Linked DNA regions of Homo sapiens: all the other regions are linked to region 3. The links are contacts of gene promoters, found by promoter capture Hi-C in blood cells and fetal thymus (Javierre and others, 2016). All regions are on one chromosome and are shown on one strand. Each heading gives the region's core, a stretch centred on a gene start or on the middle of the fragment in contact. The rest is flanking DNA. Distances are from core to core; before and after follow the strand shown. Region 1 has its middle 110 kb from the start of MAD2L1-DT. Region 2 overlaps MAD2L1-DT (MAD2L1 divergent transcript). Region 3 holds the start of QRFPR (pyroglutamylated RFamide peptide receptor).

Region 1 (3,247 bases), core at 64-2,563, 1.2 Mb before region 3:
ATCTCCAAAACCCCACACAATTATACCAGGTTAGCTCATTCTTTCTTCCTAGACATCTTATTTTCCAGGGAGTAGTGAAGGTCTACAAAACTTTCCTACTAAATAGGAAATATATTTTGTTGTCAGATGTAAGCCCAGAAAAGCAATGGCTAAACTGCTATGTATCAAAAACTTTGCAAACTTATAACAGTTTAAAATTTACTTCTAGCTATGTTTAGAGCCCTAAGGAGATAATGGCAAGTCATTTTTTCTTCTTTATACATATGTCATCATTTATGGACAGAAAATAGTTCTCAATTGTAAAAAAATAGCTCTCTATAGGATTTGCTGAGTTTTTTATGGCTAGAGTTATTAAGTAAAATAAATGACATCTGAGAGCACTCTGCTTTGTCTTTGGCTTCAAATAATGTATTTTACTATATTTTTTCATTCTTCGCTGCCATAAGTGGCAGAAAGAAAACCGCTTTTCAAATGGCTAGTGCCTAAAAAGCAAATACTTTGTGGATCTTGGGGCCAGTGTAAACTCAGAATGCAAGATATCTTCCTCAGCTTCAGTACTTGCACAATGCCTGTCTTTATTAAACATGAGTGATTTGCAAATATGATGTTTCTGAGACAGCTAATATCATGGGCCAAAATGAATGGAATCAAAACCTGAGACACATTTCTGTTAATGGGGCTCTATTTGAGAAATGTGCATTATTTTATCAGCTTCCTTATTTTAACCATTCTACCCTGTCAATACTAATACCAAGTGTTCATTTTCTTTATTAGTTTAAATGGGAGAAAACAATGCAGAAAGCTTAATAACTGTTCTATTTTTAAAGCCTTTATAGAAAACATAATATAAAAAGTGATATGAACTAGGCACAAGACAAAACTGACTTTAATATGTTATATGTTAATCTGTTAAAATACAGTACATTTTACTGCAGAATGTTAGCAGGGTATATTTGTAGATAATAGATCATTGACATTTTTATCCTATATCCTTTTTACCTTTTATTCCTTTTAAACATTGATTACCTTTGTTATAAAAAGCAACAACAATAGTTTGTAAAAGATTAAGATATTTAAATATTTAAAAATTTTTCATAACTATATTAGTAAACAGTAGTACATAAGTCTTGATAGGTACAAATGATGTCTCAAAAGACAGATGAGGTGGAAAATTACCACTCTAGCTCATGGCATGACCCCAGCCGTGCAGAGGAAAGATTTCTTCTCCTCCCCTATTCACCTCCGGGTCCCAGCTATCACTAAATATATCGGGGGTCGCGTTGCTGATCAGCAGCCTTAAGCCTGAACATGGTGGGTCCTTTGCATTAGTTCTCAATTCCCACCACCCTCCTCCCTTCCTGTGTCACGAGGCTCACTCATTTCCTCAGTGCCCTTCCCAGTTACTGTCAAATCATATAAACTCATTTCTCTGCCTCCAGCCTTTTATTTCATCAACATATCTCCTATTATATCACCAGATTAATCTTCTACAAATATTTCTTTTACCATTTCTCACTTCTGTTAAAGAATCCTGAAAAGCATCTATCTCTTGTTTTCTGTTGTTCCAAATCTAAACTCCTTTTGTCCTCTCTAGTTATCCTATAATTGGTTACAAACCATTTCTCTGAGCTCATATTCTACTACTCACCATGTCACAATTCTAGTCAAGCAACTCTTCTCTCCTTCTCCCACATAATCAGGCACAGTTCCACATCCCAACCCTTATTTTTTCTGTTCTGCTATCATGTAATATCTTCCTGTTTCTTTTCAATCTGTTGAAATACTAAGGACCCTTCAGTCTGCTCTAATTACCATTATTGTTCATGAAGCTTGATTGACAAGTCCAACCTGCAGAGAGGTCTCGCTTACTGATTCTCACTTGTTCATGTAATATGATCATTTAAAAAATTCTGTTTAAAGCACGAACTGACTACAACCACTTTGACATACTAGACAAGTGGCATTATTACATTAGGAGAGATGATTCTTGTTTTTTTAGGAAAATAAGGATTCTTTGGGAGATGAATTACAAGAGTGCCAAATTGATCTTCAAAATTAAAGGGTAGAAAATGAGATTATCTGATGTCCTGGATAAGAGAGAGTAGAAAACTTGTAGGAACTGGAGAAGAAGAGGTGACAGAGAGTTTGAGAAAATGTAGCTAATTCAATAGCTTTAGGGAAGAGTGGACAATGAGAAGTTACTCATGCTTAGGACTAACTAAAGAGTATAAACATTTAGTTTTAAATTGAAGGCTGTCCTATGTTGTAAACCCACCTTCTACTATCTTAAATCCTCAGTGAAATTCTGTTACACACAGCTACGCTGTGTCTTTGGTATTCTGGAGAAGCGAAGGACTCAGTTGTGGCCAATGGGAGCACAGGTATGCCAACCACAGGCAGTGGCTGCAGAGGTGAGATGCTGAGTGTGAATAGTGAAAGAGCAGAATCAGAAAATGTAGCAAGAGGAAACTAGGAGAAATGCCTCACTAATAATTCTCAGGTATTGGAGTGGTTATTGGTTTTTTTATAGTACATGAGACCGAAGCAATGCTATAATATTATATTTAAATAGTAAAGGAAAGGGGGTTCCAAAAAGTTGGGAATGCTCAAGTAGCTGTCTATGGAAGTCACACAATTTTGAAACAACCTCAATTTATTTCTTAAGTCTGAGATATTTTCATATTGGTAAATGTTATCTATACCACAAGATTATAATCTAATTAAAGGAGCAAATAAATCTTATAACCTTTTAAATCTTCACAATTGCTACCCTGGGGTCGGTTGCTCAATAAGTACTTTTGGATTGCAGCAAATTAAGTTGAGTTAAGAGACTCGTTTTTCATAATAACAAGAATGGCTATAAATAGTATTGCCAATATAAAAATGTTATGTGTGGAGTCAACCATTTTACAGTATGGATACTAATTTTGTAAGACTTTCAGAACATTTATGTTAGAAAACAAATGAAACTGTACTATCAAAATTGTTATAAAATAAACTGATCAGAAAATATTTTCCCCCTACTGAATATAGAATAATCACAAGGCTTTGCCTTTATGGCTGTTAGAATTATGGTTCATAGAGTTTGAACACATTGATGACATTCTTCTAATGTTCTCATTCTCCATATGATATATAACCACATAAGTTATGTAAGGAAGAGGGAAATGTTATTTCATTTAACTTGTAGTCTATGCTTGTTTTGGATATAATAAATTAAGTCATTATATTTGTAGGTAGTCATTTA
Region 2 (3,324 bases), core at 140-2,639, 1.3 Mb before region 3:
GGAGGGCGGATGACGAGGTCAGGAGATTGAGACCATCCTGGCTAACACAGTGAAACCCTGTAAAAAAAAAAAAAATACAAAAAATTAGCCGGGTGTGGTGGCGGGCACCTGTAGTCCCAGCTACTCAGGAGGCTGAGGCAGGAGAATGGCATGAACCCGGGAGCTGGAGCTTGCAGTGAGCTGAGATCGTGCCACTGCATTCCAACCTGGGTGACAGAGCGAGACTCCATCTCAAAAAAAAAAAAAAGTTTATTCAAACGTGCTCCTTCCATAACATGAGTGTCTTTTGAAAAACGGAATGGAAGAATGTTAATTTTTCTGAAGTTCTTGTTAGCACAGTACTGCAAAGAGAAAGAGCCAGTAAATCTGGCACAGCTGACTTGCATTTCCTCAGGGTACCAATCATGGCCTATGACTCCCTTTTTTTTCTAAATTTTTAAAACTGACAAATAATAATTGTACATATTTACAGGGTGCATAGTGATGTTGTGGTCTATACAATGTATAGTGATCAGATCAGGGTAATCAGCCTATCTATCATCTTAAACATTTATAATTTCTTTGTGTTTCAAACATTCAATATCCCCATTCTAGCTATTTTAAACTATTATTAACTTGTAGGATGTAGTCATCCTACAAGTGCTGTAGAACACTAGAACTTACTCTTATCTAGCTGTAATTTTGTTTCCTTTAACAAATCTCTCTGTCCTCTCTTTCCGCCTACCCTTCCCAGCCTCTAGTATTCTCTGTTGTACTTTTTACTTCTGTGGGATCAACTTTTTTAACTTCCACATATGAGTAAGAACGTGACCTTCTGACATGGAGACTGTGTGAGTGTGCAATGTCAGTCCATTTTTTGAAATCCATTTTTTTAGTAAAGCTTATTTTCCTAGGTTAAAACATAAATTAAATAGAAGTTGTAACATTCCTTCCTATACTCCCAAAAGGATTGTTTTTTGCATATATTCCACTTTGGAAGCCACTGATTTTGAGGATGTTTGCAGAAACCTTATTGATTAGGGGATGAGGCACCTGAGTTGGGAATAGTAGTGTTCCGTGCTTGTCCTCTCTTCTAGGTAAATATGGAATAGACCTAGTTAGGATGGCTGACCTGCATGCCTATGTGGAAATTTGAAGTATCATTCTTTTTTTTTTTTTTTTTTTTCTGAGACAGAGTCTTGCTCTTTCACCCAGGCTGGAGCGTGGTGGCACCATCTCAGCTCACTGCAATCATCGCCTCTCAGGTTCAAGTGATCCTTATTCCTCAGCCTCCTGTGTAGCTGGGATTACATGCATGCACCATCACACCCAGCTAATTGTTGTATTTTTTAGTGGAGACAAGGTTTCGATGGTCTTGCACTCCTGGCCTCAAGTGATTCACCCACCTTGACCTCCCAAAGTGCTGGGATTACAAGTGTGAGCCGCCATGCCCGGCGTGAGCTATCATTCTTTATAATGGACTTTGCAGAACAATCCTGTAAGGAAAATACATTCTTATTGGGAAGGAGTGCTCCAGACTCTTGAACCCCATCTATTTACCACTGCCCAAAGCACAGAATAAAAGCCATCTTAGGGGTTTCAACAAATCCTGTCATAAAAGTCCACTTAGATCACATAAAAAAAAAAAACTTTATTACTGGTTGCATAATGAGGGAGTGTCATGGTCTTGTCTAAAAGAAGCAGGAATCTCCAAGCAATCTACCAACAGCAGAGATCACATGCAGATATGTCAAAAAAAGATGTTAGCCTAGCATGTTCCAGAGAAACTTCTTAGAAGCAGACTATCTGGACAATTTAAGAAGAATTATATAGGAGTTATTTTCCTTATCGGTAAAATGGATGTAACAATAGTACTTGTCACATATAATTTTTCTGAGTATTACATGAGATAATTTAAATGAAGCTTTGGCTTAATGCTAATATGTTATTGTTATTGTTTTATTATTATATTGTTACTGTTGTTGTTAATAAGACAGCTTTTCACCACTTTTCCACGCACCTTTCCTGGGTTGGTACATGTTTAGTTTAGCATAACTAAAGGAGGCTTTAGATAATACAACTTAAGGCACAGATGAGATAGAAACTCTTATAACATATATAATAATGATAGCCAACATTATTAACCACATACTATCTGCCAGGCACATTTCTATGTGCTTTACAAGAATCATTTTATTTAATCCCTCATTAGCTCAAGAGTTAGATACTACTATTACCTGAATTAAGTTACAGAAGGAAGTTGAATAATTTAGCTAAGGTCACCCAGCTAGGAGAACTGGAGTCAAATCCAAGCAATCTAGATGGTACCAGAATATGAATCCTGAAAGCATCAAAGATCTGACTATATTTTAGATAACTCTAATTTGAGGCAAACTATAGTGGGTCCTTAATATTCCTCCATCCTTGCTATGTAACTCCTGAGACCCATTCAGCAATGGAAACCAATGGAGCTGAATGGCTGGAAAGTCACAGAATTGGAACAAGGAAAATAATCCAAAAGTGGAAGAAAAGAGTCCAAAACTGGAGGAAAAGAAACAAGAGGTAGGATCCAGGGTGCAATACTGGCTCATCTGGCTAAGAGTGGATGGCCAAAAGGGGTACCCTGACTAGGGCTGCAAAAACAGGAATTTTTTAAAAATTTTGTGCTTAAAAGATCTTGTCAATTTTCTACTTAAAAGATCTTCAGTGAACTAAGAGGAGGCATTAAACAAATATTCTGGCCAAGGGATAGAATGGCATTTGAAATAGCCTACTCTTTGTCCTGCCAATTTTATTGATAGCTCAGACAAAAGGAAATGAGAATATGCAATACAGCAGGAATGTAAAAAGATGACAAATTTGAGAGACATTTTAAAAATGTGTTGAGATGTGTTTGGTTGTACTCTGAAGAACAGCCTGGGTTTTGGGGGATCATGGTGTGGAGCTGTTATACATGGAGATGATATAGATAAGTTTGTGGCATTCGATTCATTTTCCTTCAAGTGGTTTTAGGCCAGGCAAAAAAAAAAAATTTTTTTTGAGGTAATAGCTAATAAAATGACACATTGAGGAAGAAGAGGCAGTGAAGGAAACTCAGAAGAAATGGAAAAGTAGGAGGCAAATTGTGAGAGGAATGTCAGAACCTATTTAGTGAATTTGGATTAGGTAGAAAAATACTATTTTAGTAGTTTAGTAAATAATTCAGCACAAATAAGAATGACTGAGGAAGAGTCACAGATTTTGTACTTGAAAGATTTTTGGTGAACTAAGAGGAGACAATTTGGGTCACACGGTAGGGTATAAAAGTCTTTTACAAGGAGTTTGGAAGTAAGGCTAAGAAGATAG
Region 3 (3,618 bases), core at 800-3,299:
CCCAAAAACCAAGTTCCGTATGATGATCAAAAAATACCCCATTAATTTTATGGAGTTAGTTGCACTGAGCAACTTTAAAATGCCCAAATACAATTACTGCATCAGAGTGCATAAGAAAGTCTCTAATCCATAAATCAAGGTCTTACTTTCCACATTGTGTATTACTTTCAAGTCAATGCTCTGTACTCAATGTTTAATGCTTTTTTGAAAATATTTACATTATAGATTGATAAGAATCAAGGACTTTAACATTCTGACTGACTAACAGCAAACTCAGTTTAAGCTAATGAGAAAAAAAGCAATGCTCACGATCTCAAATTGGTAATGGTAGGATGAAACACCCTCCATGAGTTTAAGAGAATTAGTAATGGGATAGAAATAGCAGAGATTGAAGGCATAATGATCTATTTCTCTTACATTTCTAACCATTTTGATGTGGCCACAAGAATACACCCAACCGTGAAAAAGGGGAGGCCCATGGTGCACCTTAAGCACTGGTGAGAATACAACACACTACTGCTCCTGGGTTTACACCAGGGCATTCTCCAGCTGTGTTCTTGGAAAAGCTGGATCATCTCAAGAAATATATCTTTTTTTCCAACCTCCACACACTGCTCCCAACTCAGTGACTCCACCTCTCCTCTGTCATTTTTTTTCCCCCATTATACGGAAGGAGGAGAATGTTATCTCTTCTTTTATAATAGGAGGGCATCAGTTTTCTGTGTTCCTTCTTCCTGCATGACACTTAATACAGTTTTTAAAAGGACTAGTTCAATATATTTTTTCTGCACATGAATTATATTTGTTTTATGCTCATAGGTACAAGAAGCTGTCTGCAAGCAACTGGGAAGTGAGGCTGGAGGGTGGGGGAATGAGGAAATGAGATTTTTAACTTTGGTTTAATTATTTGAAATATTTTTATCTCACTTTTAGTAAGAAAACTAGGGGAGAAAAACCTGGTAATGACGGGAAAGGGAGCTGAAATAAGTGGCGAGGGGTGCGACTTCCTGCCTCACTGCTCGGGACCTTTCCGAAGCTTTTCCCCAACCTATGTCTCTAAGCCACAAGGAGGAAGCACTGGAGGGGAATCAGAGGCGGCCAAAAGAACTTATGTCCAGGTGAACACAGGTGGCGAAGTTCTAAGAAAGAGCACCGGATTCATTTGACAGAGAAGTGTAAGGAAGAGACAGACGAGAGAGAGACAGACAGACGAGAGAGGAGAGAGAGAGAGAGAGAGAGAGAGAGAGAGAGAGAGAGAGAGAGAGAGAGAGAGAGAGAGATCCCCTGAAAGGCAGAGGGTTAAGAGAGAAGGAGCGAAGGAGCGGGGCGCGACTCTTACCCCCCAGCCAGTTGTCGGAAATGTTCTGGAGCATGGTGACGGGAATGCAGAAGAAGGTGATGAGCAGGTCACTGAGCGCCAAGGAGCAGATAAAGATGTTGGTGACGGTGCGCATGGCCTTGCTGCGGGTCACCACGTAGAACACCAGAGCATTGCCAAAGAGCGCCAGGGCGAAGATGAGCACGCCGGTGAGCACGAGGGCCAGCTTGGCGCGTCCCGGCAGCTCTGGGGTGTAGACGAGCGGTCGCAGCCGGTACAGAGCGATGAACTGCTCCCGCGTCAGGTTGTGGTCCCGCAGCAGCCGAGAGAACTGCTCCGGGGTAATGTTAAGCGCCTGCATTGCTGTGCGCTCCCGGGACGCGGGGCCACCGCCCGCTACTGGCTGGCCATCCGCATCTGCGGGGCAGCGAGGGCTTCGGGGGACCAGCCGGAGGCCGCCTCCCTTCCTCTACTCTGGAGTCAGCCGCGCGGGAGGGCTCTAGGCTGCACCCCGGGAGGTTCGGGAAAGGAGAGCAGCTCAGGGATCAAACCCACGATAAAGAGGCGGGAAGCCAAAGCACTGGGAGACTCGATCTCAGTGACCAAAAAATGTTCGCGGTTCAAATAAAGTTCTTCCCTTGCTCTTCCCTAAGGCGAGGCGCCGCCACGGTCTGGGGTGCTGGAGCGCCACGCGAGGGTCCTGGCGCCTCTGGCTCCCCGCCTTCTGGCCATGCGATGCGGACGCCGGACCCGCTTGGGGAGCGGTGGAGGGTGGGGCTGAACTCGGTGACGCCTCCCTCACACCCAGCTTCAGTGGCGCCAACGCCGCTTCCCCGCACCCTCAGGGCGAGGGAAGACTTCCCTGGCTCACCAACTTGCTGCCGCCCAGCGCCTTTCTCAGGGCATGGCCCCAGTCAGGTAATGCTTGTATGTGAAACTGGGTATTGGGGGGTTCCACAGTTTCAAGTTTCTCCTCTTGCGTAATAATGGGAGCCACAACTACCCAAGGCAAATAGGGCTTATTTTAAATTATTTTCTGTATTGAAAAATAATTAAGATAGTTAAAATATAGAACTTGGGAAATGGCAAAGATAATACAGAAAGATCCTGCGTACCCACCCTTCACCCAGTTTCTTTCATTCATTACATCTTATTTAACTACGGAACAATACAAAACCAGGAATTTGACACAGGTACAGTGTTTGCATGTTTTTATCTCAAGTGTAGATTCCCGTAACCGTCAGGATACAAACTCTTCTATCACCACAAAAATCTCCCTGGTGCTTTTTATACTCACACCTAGCCCCTCCCTCCACCATCTCTAACTCCTGGCAACCACTAATATGTTCTCTCTTAACTTTTGTCAGAACATTACGTAAGGGAAATCATACAATATGCTGCCTTTTGATATTGAATTTTCTTCGCTCAGCCTAATGCCCTTTAAATCCATCCAAGTTGTTGCATGTATTAATGGCTGTTTCTTTTTATTGCTGAGGCTGTATCACCGTTTATTTAACCATCCACCTCTTGTAGAACATTTTGGTTGATTACCATTTTGAGCTATTAAAAATAAAGCTGCTATAAAGAATCATGTACAGGTTTTTGTGTGAACATAGTTTTCCTTTCTATAGGAAATGCCAAAAGTTTTGATTATTGAATCTGTAATGTGTATATTTAATTTTTAAAGAGATTGACTACTTTTCAGAGTGGCTGTACAAGTCTCCATCTCTACCATCAATGCATGAGAAGTTACGTTTCTCCACATCCTTGCCAGCATTTGGTTTTGCTGCTTTTTTTTTTTAAGCTATTCTAATAGATCTGTAGTGATATCTCTTTAGGGCCTTAATTTACATTTACCTAATGGCAAGTAATATTGAACATCTCATGTGCTTATTTGCCGTCCTTGAATCTTCTTTGGTGAAATGTCTTTCCATGTGTTTTGTCCGTTTCTAATTGCATGGTTTAGTTTATTTGCTGTTGAAAGTTCTTTTTATATTCTACATACAAGTCCTTTGTTAGTAAACGGTTTGCAAATATGTTCTTCCAGTCTGTAGCTTGTTATTTATCTTCTTAACAGGGACTTTCACAGAACAGCTTTTAGTTTTAGTGAAGTCATATTTATCAATATTTTCTTTTATAGATAGCTTTTAGTGTTCAGTCTAACTTCACCAAAGCCTATTTCTCAAAAACTTTCTCTTAGGTATTTTTCTAAAAGTGTTATAGTTTTACATTTTATGTTTTGGGCTCTCTATTCTGTTGAATTGATCTATGTGTCTATCCTCCACATTCTTGACTACTGT

What was found. The method cuts DNA at HindIII sites, captures the fragments that hold promoters and counts their contacts. A CHiCAGO score of 5 or more calls a contact.
Region 1: a contact is called between a fragment that was not itself captured here and the fragment with the promoter of QRFPR in region 3, in 2 of 17 cell types (fetal thymus and activated CD4 T cells). The highest score is 6.3, in fetal thymus.
Region 2: a contact is called between a fragment that was not itself captured here and the fragment with the promoter of QRFPR in region 3, in 1 of 17 cell types (M2 macrophages). The highest score is 5.0, in M2 macrophages.

Annotation. Positions count from the first base shown.
Region 1 is chr4:120,173,632-120,176,878 of GRCh38, forward strand. No RefSeq gene overlaps it. Among named protein-coding and RNA genes, the nearest start is that of MAD2L1-DT, 110 kb to the left of the region's middle. The HindIII fragment of the contact is 1,027 bases long and covers 801-1,827 here.
Region 2 is chr4:120,075,581-120,078,904 of GRCh38, forward strand. The region is part of intron 1 of MAD2L1-DT (MAD2L1 divergent transcript); the gene reads left to right. Among named protein-coding and RNA genes, the nearest start is that of MAD2L1-DT, 10 kb to the left of the region's middle. The HindIII fragment of the contact is 1,023 bases long and covers 879-1,901 here.
Region 3 is chr4:121,378,969-121,382,586 of GRCh38, forward strand. QRFPR (pyroglutamylated RFamide peptide receptor) reads right to left here and starts at 2,050. Exons shown (of 6, transcript NM_198179.3): 1 at 1,340-2,050. The coding sequence starts at 1,679. RefSeq lists an enhancer at 1,836-2,620. The HindIII fragment of the contact is 7,115 bases long and covers 1,035-3,618 here.